3 separate regions of the Homo sapiens genome follow, and all the other regions are linked to region 3. Evidence: promoter capture Hi-C in human tissues and cell types (Jung and others, 2019). All regions are on one chromosome and are shown on one strand. The core of a region is centred on a gene start or on the middle of the fragment in contact, and the rest is flanking DNA. Distances in the headings are between cores, read along the strand shown. Region 1 overlaps LOC107986129 (a long non-coding RNA gene). Region 2 overlaps MGLL (monoglyceride lipase). Region 3 holds the start of MGLL (monoglyceride lipase).

Region 1 (3,240 bases), core at 436-2,935, 60 kb after region 3:
GTGGCGTCGTTCCTAACAGGCCATGGACTAGTACCGGTTTGTGGCACAAGGGTTGGGGACCTCTGCTTTAACATATTTATAACAATTATTTAAAGACTATTCTCTGCTAATTCCAACATCTAGTTCACCTTTGAGTCTGTCTCTTTTGATCATTTTTCCTCCTTTTGATAAACCATCACATTTTTTTCCTTCTTCACACATAGAACTGATTTTTCAGCATATGCCAGACATTGTGTGACTCCTAGAAACTCTGAATTTTGTTACCTTTCTCTAAAGCGGGCTGAGTTTTGTTCAGGGAGTCTGGTGGATCCCTTCAATTTTGCTGAGGCTGGGCTTTTCGACATGTCTATTTCAATGTTTCCCTTAGTCATCAGGCACAGCCCTTACTTCTATAGCATGGTTCTTACTCTTAATGAAATGACCTTTCTGGGGTTTTAATTAAATGCCAGAGATGCCCACCAAGGTCTATGGCTTGACTGGCTGAAATTCTTCAATGATGAGTTATCATTGAAATCTCTGATCAACTCTCTGTTCCTAGGAGCTGTTCTCTATTAGGCATCATAGTGTCTTGCCCCGGACATGTTCAGTTTAAGATTTAGCCAAGGACCTTAAGGGAGGCCTTATACAAAGTTAAGGAATTGTCTCTCATCTGGTACCCTGACACACAAATTGCCACTGTCACAGAAGCCACAAGCAATGTTTCCAGATTCCCTGCCCAGCTTCCCTTCCCTGCTGCTCTCTTTGCTTGACTAAATTATCCCCCACTGTGGTTTAGAAACCAACTTCAAGCAGAAAGCCAGGATAAATATCAAGTACCTCCCTTGGCTCAAGGCAGCTCAAGGCTTTAAGCCACTGTCCAAGGCCTGAAAACCATTGTTTCACATGTTTTGTGCATTTGTTATAGTCTTCATGATAGAATGGTAAGTCTAATGCTACTCCATCACAACCGGACTGGAAGTCTTTGAGTAAGTTACTATCTGCACAAACAAGAGGATGATTCAAAATTACCTAATGCAGGCTGGGTGCGGTGGCTCACGCCTGTAATCCCAGCACTTTGGGAGGCCGAGGCGGGTGGATCATGAGGTCAGGAGATCGAGACCATCCTGGCTAACAAGGTGAAACCCCGTCTCTACTAAAAATACAAAAAATTAGCCGGGCGCGGTGGCGGACGCCTGTAGTCCCAGCTACTGGGGAGGCTGAGGCAGGAGAATGGCGTGAACCCGGGAAGCGGAGCTTGCAGTGAGCCGAGATTGCACCACTGCAGTCCGCAGTCCGGCCTGGGCGACAGAGCGAGACTCCGTCTCAAAAAAAAAAAAAAAAAAAAAAAAAAAAAAATTACCTAATGCAATGGAACATTAAAAACTCAATTACTGCCTGTCTCCCTCTGAGCCTACCCTGTAGCTGAGTTGATCCCCACCACAGGCCTCTGTTTCCTCCTCTTTCCCATCAGCCATGGTCTTACAGCCTGTCACATTCAAGTTGACATTCTATTCATTTACCGTGTTCTTATTCTGAACCCTTCCTTAGACACAGGAGTTACAAAATTGCCATTATTGGAAGGAAAGCACAATTCAAGAAAAAAGCTCAAAGGATCTCAAAAATACAGATTATATAATAAAAAAGGACAATGGCTTTTAAATATACTAATATATTCTATTACAGACCAAATACATGAGAAATTAGAAACCCCTGAATAGCTGTTGGCTTGTATTGCATTTTAAAAAGACAGAAGATCTTGAGAATATGCCCTAATGGAGGAATAGCAATGACAACTCAAAACAGACAGCTTTTTTACATATATTAGTCTCTTGCATTTGAAATGGTAATGAATGATATCTGCCCCACACCTCTCCCCCACAATCCAGCTAAGGTTAAAAATAAAAATAAGAAGGCATGCTCCAGGTGGGCAGTCAGGAGGATCCCAGGAATATTCTGGGCACTTGCTATAGCTGCCAAGAATAGGATTCAAGGTTTATCCCAAATAATCTATGAAATGGAAAGAAACACGAAGACAATTAATATTAACAATCCATTATGGCAAAACTGGGCACTCTCCAGATGCTTTAATATATATATATATATATATATATATATACATACACACACACATACACATATATACACATATACACATATATGTACATTATATATATATATATTTTTTTTGAGACAGAGTCTCACTCTGTTGTCCAGGCTGGAGTGCAGTGGTGGAGGTTCACTGCAACCTCCACCTCCCGGGTTCAAGCGATTCTCCTGCCTCAGTCCCCTGAGTAGCTGGGATCACAGGCGCATGCCACCACACCTGGCTAATTTTTGTATTTTTAGTAGAGGTGGGGTTTCACCATGTTGACCTGGCTGGTCTCAAACTCCTGACCTCAAATGATCCACCCACGTCAGCCTTCCAAAATGCTGAGATTTCAGGCGTGAGCCACTGTGCCCAGCCACTTTAAAATATTTTTGACTACCTGTATATAACCCAAGTCTTTAAGAGTTCATCTTAACAGACTTCCATTTGTAGAACATGCTTAGATTCTACCCTGAGTCCCTTTATTGATTCGAGGTCTTATCAAGTCACAATGTTTACTAGTTTTGAAAATGTGTTTAACATGGAAAACACTGCTGCGTCTCGCCACAGCATTTTATCTTCACATCTGGCTTGGGGACCATCAGCTTACCAAGTCCACTCACGCCCGCTAATGTTTCCAAAAGCTTTATTTTGGAAATTTGGTGCACTTTGGCTTTGAAACATGTGTATAGATGATTTTTAACATAAGAAGCCCTGCATTCATTGTTATTTTTAAATAAATGTATGCAACTGTTAAATTTTGTGTTTCTTGGGTTTTGTTTTCCACAGCTGACTGGGCATATTCCCAGTGAGAAAATAAGGTCAGCAAAACAGCTGCAATAGTGGAAAAGGGACCAGTGGCCATGAGAGAGAACCAATGAAAGAGCATCTGCTAATGTATTAATGTGATGTCATGGAAGAACTAACCATCTTAAAGATTATAAAATGCAAGGGTATGAGGCTTCCAGAAGATACCTCTTAAAGGCCCAGCAAATTATAAATATGTTGACAACACTTCATAGATAGATTAACACATATAAAATGTATCATATGAAAGATAACATTTATCCTAAATTAGGCGTGGTTCTAAGTCTAACGAATATTCAGATGGCAGAGCTAGAAGAAACTGAACATTTTTCTTCCTGGAAAGCAGTAAACTTTGTTCTAATCTCAGT
Region 2 (3,335 bases), core at 580-3,079, 41 kb before region 3:
GTCCCAGCTACTCAGGAGGCTAAGACAGGATAATCGCTTGAACCCGGGAGGCAGAGGTTGCAGTGAGTTGAGATCACGCCACTGCACTCCAGCCTGGGCGACAGAGCAAGACTCCATTTCAAAAAAATAAAAAGTAAAAAAATAAAATAAAAGCTATGTTGGAAAGAATGCAGTCTGCATATATCTCTGTAGGCATTTGTGCCTGGAAACATTGGTGTACAGTAATAAAAAAGGCCAGGCTTTAGAACCAGCCTTTTTTTTTTTCTTAGAAAAGTCTAGACAGTTGTGGCTGTAATGCAGCGGCGCAGGACCTTACATAACCTCAGCAATGCATCAGGAGCCACACTGTGGGCTCCAGGCCTTATTAAATAAGAGGATTTGCTGTTAAAATGCTGAACAGCGAAATACTATAATGCATTGAGCAACGAGATCCAAGCTAGTAAAATCAGTTAGCGTCAGATTTAGCATCCATTCACTCCTTTCCCTCCCCAACCTTCTAAAGAAGGTTTGACCTGGGTTCAAATCCTTCCTTCTTCACTTACTAGCACATTTCTCAGCAAGAAGGAAATACAGCCAAGATCACTAGCCACCAGTACCTGCATCGCCAGCCTGCACAAGATCCCCAAAATGGCAGCCCACTTACTTGGCTTCCTTCTACTAAGCAAGCCACAGCAAAAGTCACACACGCACAGTCAACTGGGTTCATTTCCTGAATTAAACACTTCCCTTAGGCACTTGCCAGAGAGATTTCCATGAGTCATTCAAAGAGCTTGAAACAGGTGAACACCAACAGCCATTTTCGCACTATATTTAGAATGTCACAGAGAGCTCTGCCTCAACTCTAGATGTTATTCTGGAAACATCAAAAGGTGGGCTGTTTCTTTTCTCCCTTTATTCTAAAAAAGGAGGCTTTTAAAATTGTTTCTCAAAGTGCCACAGCCAGACAAAATAAACAAGGAACAACATTTACTTAATCCCACAGATTTGGCCAAGTTTTATCCGATAAGAAGGTGGTTGGTGCTAAGATACAAAATAGATTCTTGGGACTCTAGCTGCATAGTACAAATATCCTTTTCCTTCACAATGTCTCTAGAACATAACGATGATGAGTGTAACAAATTTTAAAGGATGCAAATGCAATAGGAAAAAAAAATTCCTATCTGAGGCTTTTACATGTAAGAAGTGCCAAAGTTAATAATGACACAGTCCCCATACTAAAAGCCTCGGAGATGATCCTCAAATATTATTTCTCAAACAGTCTCACAAATATTACTGGGACAGTTCGCAAAGCACTAAAGAACGTCACAACTATGATAAGAAAGAATTAGTCAATACTGTCAGTTATGAGGACGCTTGTGTATATCCAGCTGAATAAGAGCCCCTGGCAAATCACATTTGCAGCTCTTTACCTACAGAATGTCCCAGCAAGCTTTTCACCTCCTGTGCAGCTTCTCCGTACAGATAAGGCTTTCCCGCATTTACAAGGACTTCCAGGCCTCTGTCATTGCTCCCCTGTCCCTCTTTTCAGAGACATCACTTAATTATTATCCATTTTCAAATCAGATAAAATGGAAGCAACATTTCTGGATCTGGGCCACAATGATAGAATTTTACATTGAAGCTGTGGGGAAATCACCGTGTTCAGTCACAGAGAAGTCTTAATTTTAAAAAGTGTTAGGCAAAGAACTAAATTGGGAGACTTCCTAGCCATAGAGAATGTTGCAAACATGATTACAAAACTACATACCGACTCAGACAATGAACATTGGATTTTGATGGTTGTGGATTTTGCTACAGAACAAAGAATCAAAGACCTGGCCTGGGGTTGTGTGTGTGTGATTGTGTATGGATGGTATGTTTATGTATGCATGTATATGTCTATATGTATGTGTGAATGTGTGTATATGTGTGTAAATGTGTAGGTGCACATGTGTATGTATGTGTGTATGTGTGTTTTACGTGTATGTGTATAGGTACAGGTGTGTATGTGTGTGCATGTGTATGTATATGTGTATGTGTGCAAATGTGTGTATGACTATATGCATGGGTAGCTGTGTGTCCTTGTATTTGTGTGTGTGTTGGGTTTTCTTGTGAACAATATGGCCTGTTGAGGCTTCTACTATTCTCCTGGTCTGAAATGCTTGGTAAACCTCGTGTGGTTAAACCAGGGTTTACACTGTACTTGAACTGACTACACAATGCCCATTTGAGGGCACTTGGAGAAAAACCAGGGCCCATTTTGAGAGAAAGCACTTTATAAATGCAGGAAAGAATTCCTTAGCCTCAGGCAAGTTCTGAGATGAACATATCCGACTTTGTTTTTCCAGTTGAGGTTTCTAATCAGCCTGCATTCAGTCTCAGACTACAGAATCTGCTCGTCAGACATTTTTTTTGTTTGTTTGCATAACTACATTTTTTTACTTTGAAACATCCGTGGGGAATAGAAGAATTGAGAAGGATGCTGGCAGTGAGATGGACTAGAGAGGGAGATCTCCAAATTGTCAGGGCCCAGCCAGCTCTGACGGCACCCTGGGACACTCACCATGGTCGTGGGCGAACACCAGCAGGTCCAGCCCCATCAGCATCCGAGCCAGCTCTTCATAGCGGCCACTGTGCTCTCCGGCTCCATGGGACACAAAGATGAGGGCCCTGCAGAGACAAGAAGGGAGCCTGGTTAGGAAAGCCCACACGGGGCTGGGCGCGGTGGCTCATGCCTACAATTCCAGCACTTTGGGAGGCCGGGGCGGGCGGATTGCCTGAGCTCAGGAGTTTGAGACCAGCCTGACCAACATAGTGAAACCCCACCTCTACTGAAATACAAAAAAATTAGCCGGGAGTGGTGGCATGCGCCTGTCATCCCAGCTACTCGGCAGGCTGAGGCAGGAGAATTGCTTGAACCCAGGAGGCAGAGATGACAGTGAGCTGAGATGGCGCCACTGTACTCCAGCCTGGGTGACAGAGCGAGACTCTGTCTCCAAAAAAATAGAAAAGAAAAGAAACGCCCAGATGGCTGCCACTGTGCTGCAGCAGTACCAGAGCTTACAAAACCTCAGCAACACCAGGAGCCACACCATGGGCTCCAGGCATTGTCAAATAAGAGGAGTTTGCTGTTAAAATGCGGGGCTTCAGAGTCACGCAGAATGGAGCCCAAATCCCTGCTCTTCCTGTGAGCTCTCAGGCAGAGCTCCAGTCCCATGAAGGTTCATTTCTTCGCCTGTAACATGGTAAGAAGAGCATCGCCCTGTGGGTGCTTGTGAGGCTCATGGGAGCTAATCGATGCCAATGGCCCAGGCAGAGTGCTGGCGCGGGGCAGGCAGGTCCTCCACCAGGGCCTG
Region 3 (3,592 bases), core at 588-3,087:
CGTACAGACACATTCTTTAAGAAATGTATTACCAGAACTGGTAGGAACTCTTCTCAGCACGTTACCCACTTGAAAACACTAGAGAGAAACCATAGCCAGTCTGTGTAGCTGCCCTGAAGCTATGACTCTATGCCGGGTTTTAAAAGTCCATATCTCTGTGTTTTTAACGTGCAGCTCCCTGGATCATAGATACCTTGATGAAGACAGAGAAGAAATTTTACACCTGTGTGAGGGTTGGGTGATTACTGGAGCACAAAGAGAGACATAATCCAACCACACAATGATCCCTAGGAGACAAGAGGCCTACAAAACAGGTAAAATGTCCCTGGAACAGGAAATGTTCTTGTCACCAGGCCAATTGGTTACCACAAATAAATTCTTTTTCCAAATAACACAAACAAGCAGGGTTTTCCTGCTTCATCCAAGAGGAGGGAGCAGCAGCAGGAGACCAGCTGTCTTGTGTATAGTCCCAATGTTTGCTTCTAATAGCAAGACAAATCCTTGATGGAAAATGTACAAAGTAATTGAGCTGGCAAGGAATCAGAAGGAAATACCCAGGCCCCTTTCTTCCTGGTGACACATGTATGCCATCTTCAGAAGCTCAGAAACAAGCAGGAAAAGTGAGCAAAGGTGAAGATATATGTATTACTTCGGGTTTCTCATCCATCTAGGGGATTTTCCTTAATTGTCGGGTTTGATTTTAAATGAATGCCTGTACAACCGGAAATCAACTCCAGTACAAAAAATAAAGTCATGTGGAATTTTTGAAAATTGCCATACGGTAGGATCCATATCTGAGTTGTTATAATGAAAAAAGAATTCCTGCTTCTTAAATTTAAAAATTATAAAGTATACATTTTAGCTTTGTTAACATTGCTCAGCCTAACATTAAAACGGCAGGGGAAGTAGGTCATAGAGAAAGCGGCCCCGCCCCAGATGGCACATGATAACGACCAGAGGAGAAGCAGGGGCCATGCTCCCCTGTCACCTGGGGTGACTTTCTGGGGAAGACTTACTTGGGTGTGCCTGTGGGTTTCCAGTACCTGCAGAAGAGGTACTGTCCGTCTGCATTGACCAGGTGAGGGAGGTCCTGGTAGGGAATGCTCTGCGGGGTCCGCCTGGGGGAACTTTCCTCTGGCATGCTGGAAGGGTCTTCAGGTCCTAGAAGGAAAAGTGACATATTCCAAAGTCAGAAATATCTCAAGAACATGTATGGATAGGAGAGAAAAGTCTAGTTCAGAGTCAGTAACATTTTTTTAAAAGCAGTTTAAAAAACCCCTCTGTTTCAAAGGTTTAAAACATACATACATTTCTTGCAAACCTCTCCAAGACTGAAAAATCCCATTTGTTCTTAAGAAAATGCTCACTTTATTTTTTAAGTGCCTCATTACAGTTTTTCCCCCTTCCCATCTGTGTTTATTTTAAATCATTTCAGGAAACTTCATCTTAAAGACTATTTTAGCTGTAATCAAGTGGAAATTATAGTCAGCTCTATGGGTACAAAGACCCAGCTGCAAGAAGACCCATCTATCTTAAAATCTCCAAGGAACAGTTTCAAGTGGGCACAATAATGAGGTGGATGATACTCAGATTATTCCTCCCATCTGAAATTCCAAGGATACATGACAAACCTGTTTCCATTATGTGCTGGCGTTTGCATTCCACAACCACGACAGCCTGGAGAATCAGAACCAGGCAAATCGGGCTGTTCCCTCATCTGGGCGGCCCCAAGGCAGCAGGAAGGCAGCTCCGAGCCCTCTTCCCGCACCCAGACCCTGCCTTTCGGGCTGGGGCGCTCAGCCGGGAGCCTGCTTCCAGCTCCCACCGGCAGGCTCTCCGGGGCTCCCCTCCCTCCCCAGGGCGGGGAGCGGCGCTGCGATTCTCCACTACTAGTTCATGTCATCACTTTTCCTAAACAAATCGCTAGAGGGGCTCGGAGAAGGGAGGGGCCCGGGAAACTGGGAAACTAGCTCCGCGCACACCGAGGCACCTCGCAGACGCACAAATGCGGGTGCCCAAGGCAAAGTCGCCCCCAAGGCTTCTCACAAACTTTGCTTCCTGTGCGTCTCCGACAGCACAGGACACGTAGCCCCGAAGCTGTCATCGGAAATGCCGCTGGGAAAACCGGGTGGGCTTCGCCGGGTGTCTGCACCGGGGAAGGTGGGGACTAGAAAGATGGAGTTGATGGGGACAAGTTGGTTTGGGGGCTGGTGCGAAGGAGCAGGGAGGGCGCGCGCGCGCGCACACGCGCGCACACTCGGACACGCGCGCACACACACCGTGCACACACACACACGCACACATGGGTAGCGGGAGCCCACGCCGGGCGTGTCCGGGACCCCAGTGCTGCTCCCCACCCCTGACGGCGGCACTGGCGGGCTGGGGCAGGGGCCGGGAGGCAGTTACCGGGGCCACGAGCGCCGCTGTCGCGTTCCCCGAGCGCAGCGGATCCTCGTTTGCGGCGGGCCAGGGCCGGGACGAGCTGCGCGCGACCGGCTTCGCGGCGACAGGGTGCGGCGTCTGCGCCGCCACTTTATCCCTGGGCCGGCTCGGCGGCGGGGGCGGCCCGAGGTGGGTGGGGACGCGCGGGACCCGGCGGGCGGCGGGCGGCGCGGGGAGGCGGCGCCCGGGGCCCACGTGTGCCCGGCCCGCGGGGAGGAGCGGGGGCGCCGCCCGCCGACCCAGCCACGCACTCCTCTCCTCCGCGCCTCGTGGACAGCCGCGCCCCGGGGTGGCCGCCCGAGGACTGTCAGGGAGGCCTGAACTGAGCTGGGTTCATGGGAGCCTCAGCGCGGGAGGACACACCACACCCACGGGCACACGCGCGCACACAGACCCACAGGCACCACACGTACACAGACAACTCGCGCAGGGCCGCACACTCACCACACGTGTACACATGTGCACTCCCAAAGTCACTACACTGCACGCAGGGACATACAGACACACATCCCAGAGATACCACATGCATACAGACACACACAGACCACACATGCATGCACACACACAAGCCGAGACATAGGCACAGACAACCCACAGAGACACAGAGGTGCACAGACATATGCAGACTATACACCTGGCCCCCACATAGACACAGACACACTCACATCATACACACACAGTCGCACACAGACACACTCACACTTCATTGCAGTCAGACACATACAATGCTGGAGGGGCAATTAACCGGTCGTGGTGGCATGCGCCTGTAGTCCCAGCTACTCAGGAGAATCGCTTGAACCCGGGAGGCAGAGGTTGCAGTGAGCCGATACCACACCATTGCACTTCAGCCTGGGTGACAGAGTGAGACTCCATCTCGGGGAAAAAAAAATGCTGGAGGGGGTCCACTTGACTCTAGGGTAGTGTAAAAGCAGATGGTGCATGGCTACAAATGCCTTGTCCCTTCCTGGCAATCCCCAGCAACTCTCCCGTTCCCAGCGGCTGTGACCCCCAGATAAAACCTCTGGTGCATCTACACAGGCCAGGGCACAGTCTGAGCTCTGTCCAGTATAACTAGCAACGTGGCCGTGGAGGGTAAGGCCACTGGACTGAGACTCCACACCACCTGGGTTGAACATTAGCTCCTCCGCTT

The links. The method cuts DNA at HindIII sites, captures the fragments that hold promoters and counts their contacts. A contact is called where the count stands out against the background at its distance.
Region 1: a fragment that was not itself captured here is called in contact with the fragment with the promoter of MGLL in region 3 in 1 of the 25 tissues and cell types used here (heart right ventricle).
Region 2: a contact is called between a fragment that was not itself captured here and the fragment with the promoter of MGLL in region 3, in 2 of the 25 tissues and cell types used here (dorsolateral prefrontal cortex and spleen).

Annotation. Positions count from the first base shown.
Region 1 is chr3:127,881,320-127,884,559 of GRCh38, forward strand. All of the region lies in intron 3 of LOC107986129 (a long non-coding RNA gene), which reads right to left. Among named protein-coding and RNA genes, the nearest start is that of KBTBD12, 32 kb to the right of the region's middle. The HindIII fragment of the contact is 5,061 bases long and covers 1-3,240 here.
Region 2 is chr3:127,779,247-127,782,581 of GRCh38, forward strand. MGLL (monoglyceride lipase) reads right to left here. Exons shown (of 8, transcript NM_007283.7): 3 at 2,543-2,649. Among named protein-coding and RNA genes, the nearest start is that of MGLL, 42 kb to the right of the region's middle. The HindIII fragment of the contact is 3,961 bases long and covers 1-3,335 here.
Region 3 is chr3:127,820,678-127,824,269 of GRCh38, forward strand. MGLL (monoglyceride lipase) reads right to left here and starts at 1,838. Exons shown (of 8, transcript NM_007283.7): 1 at 1,632-1,838; 2 at 1,017-1,161. The coding sequence starts at 1,641. RefSeq lists a silencer at 2,280-2,799. The HindIII fragment of the contact is 31,525 bases long and covers 1-3,592 here.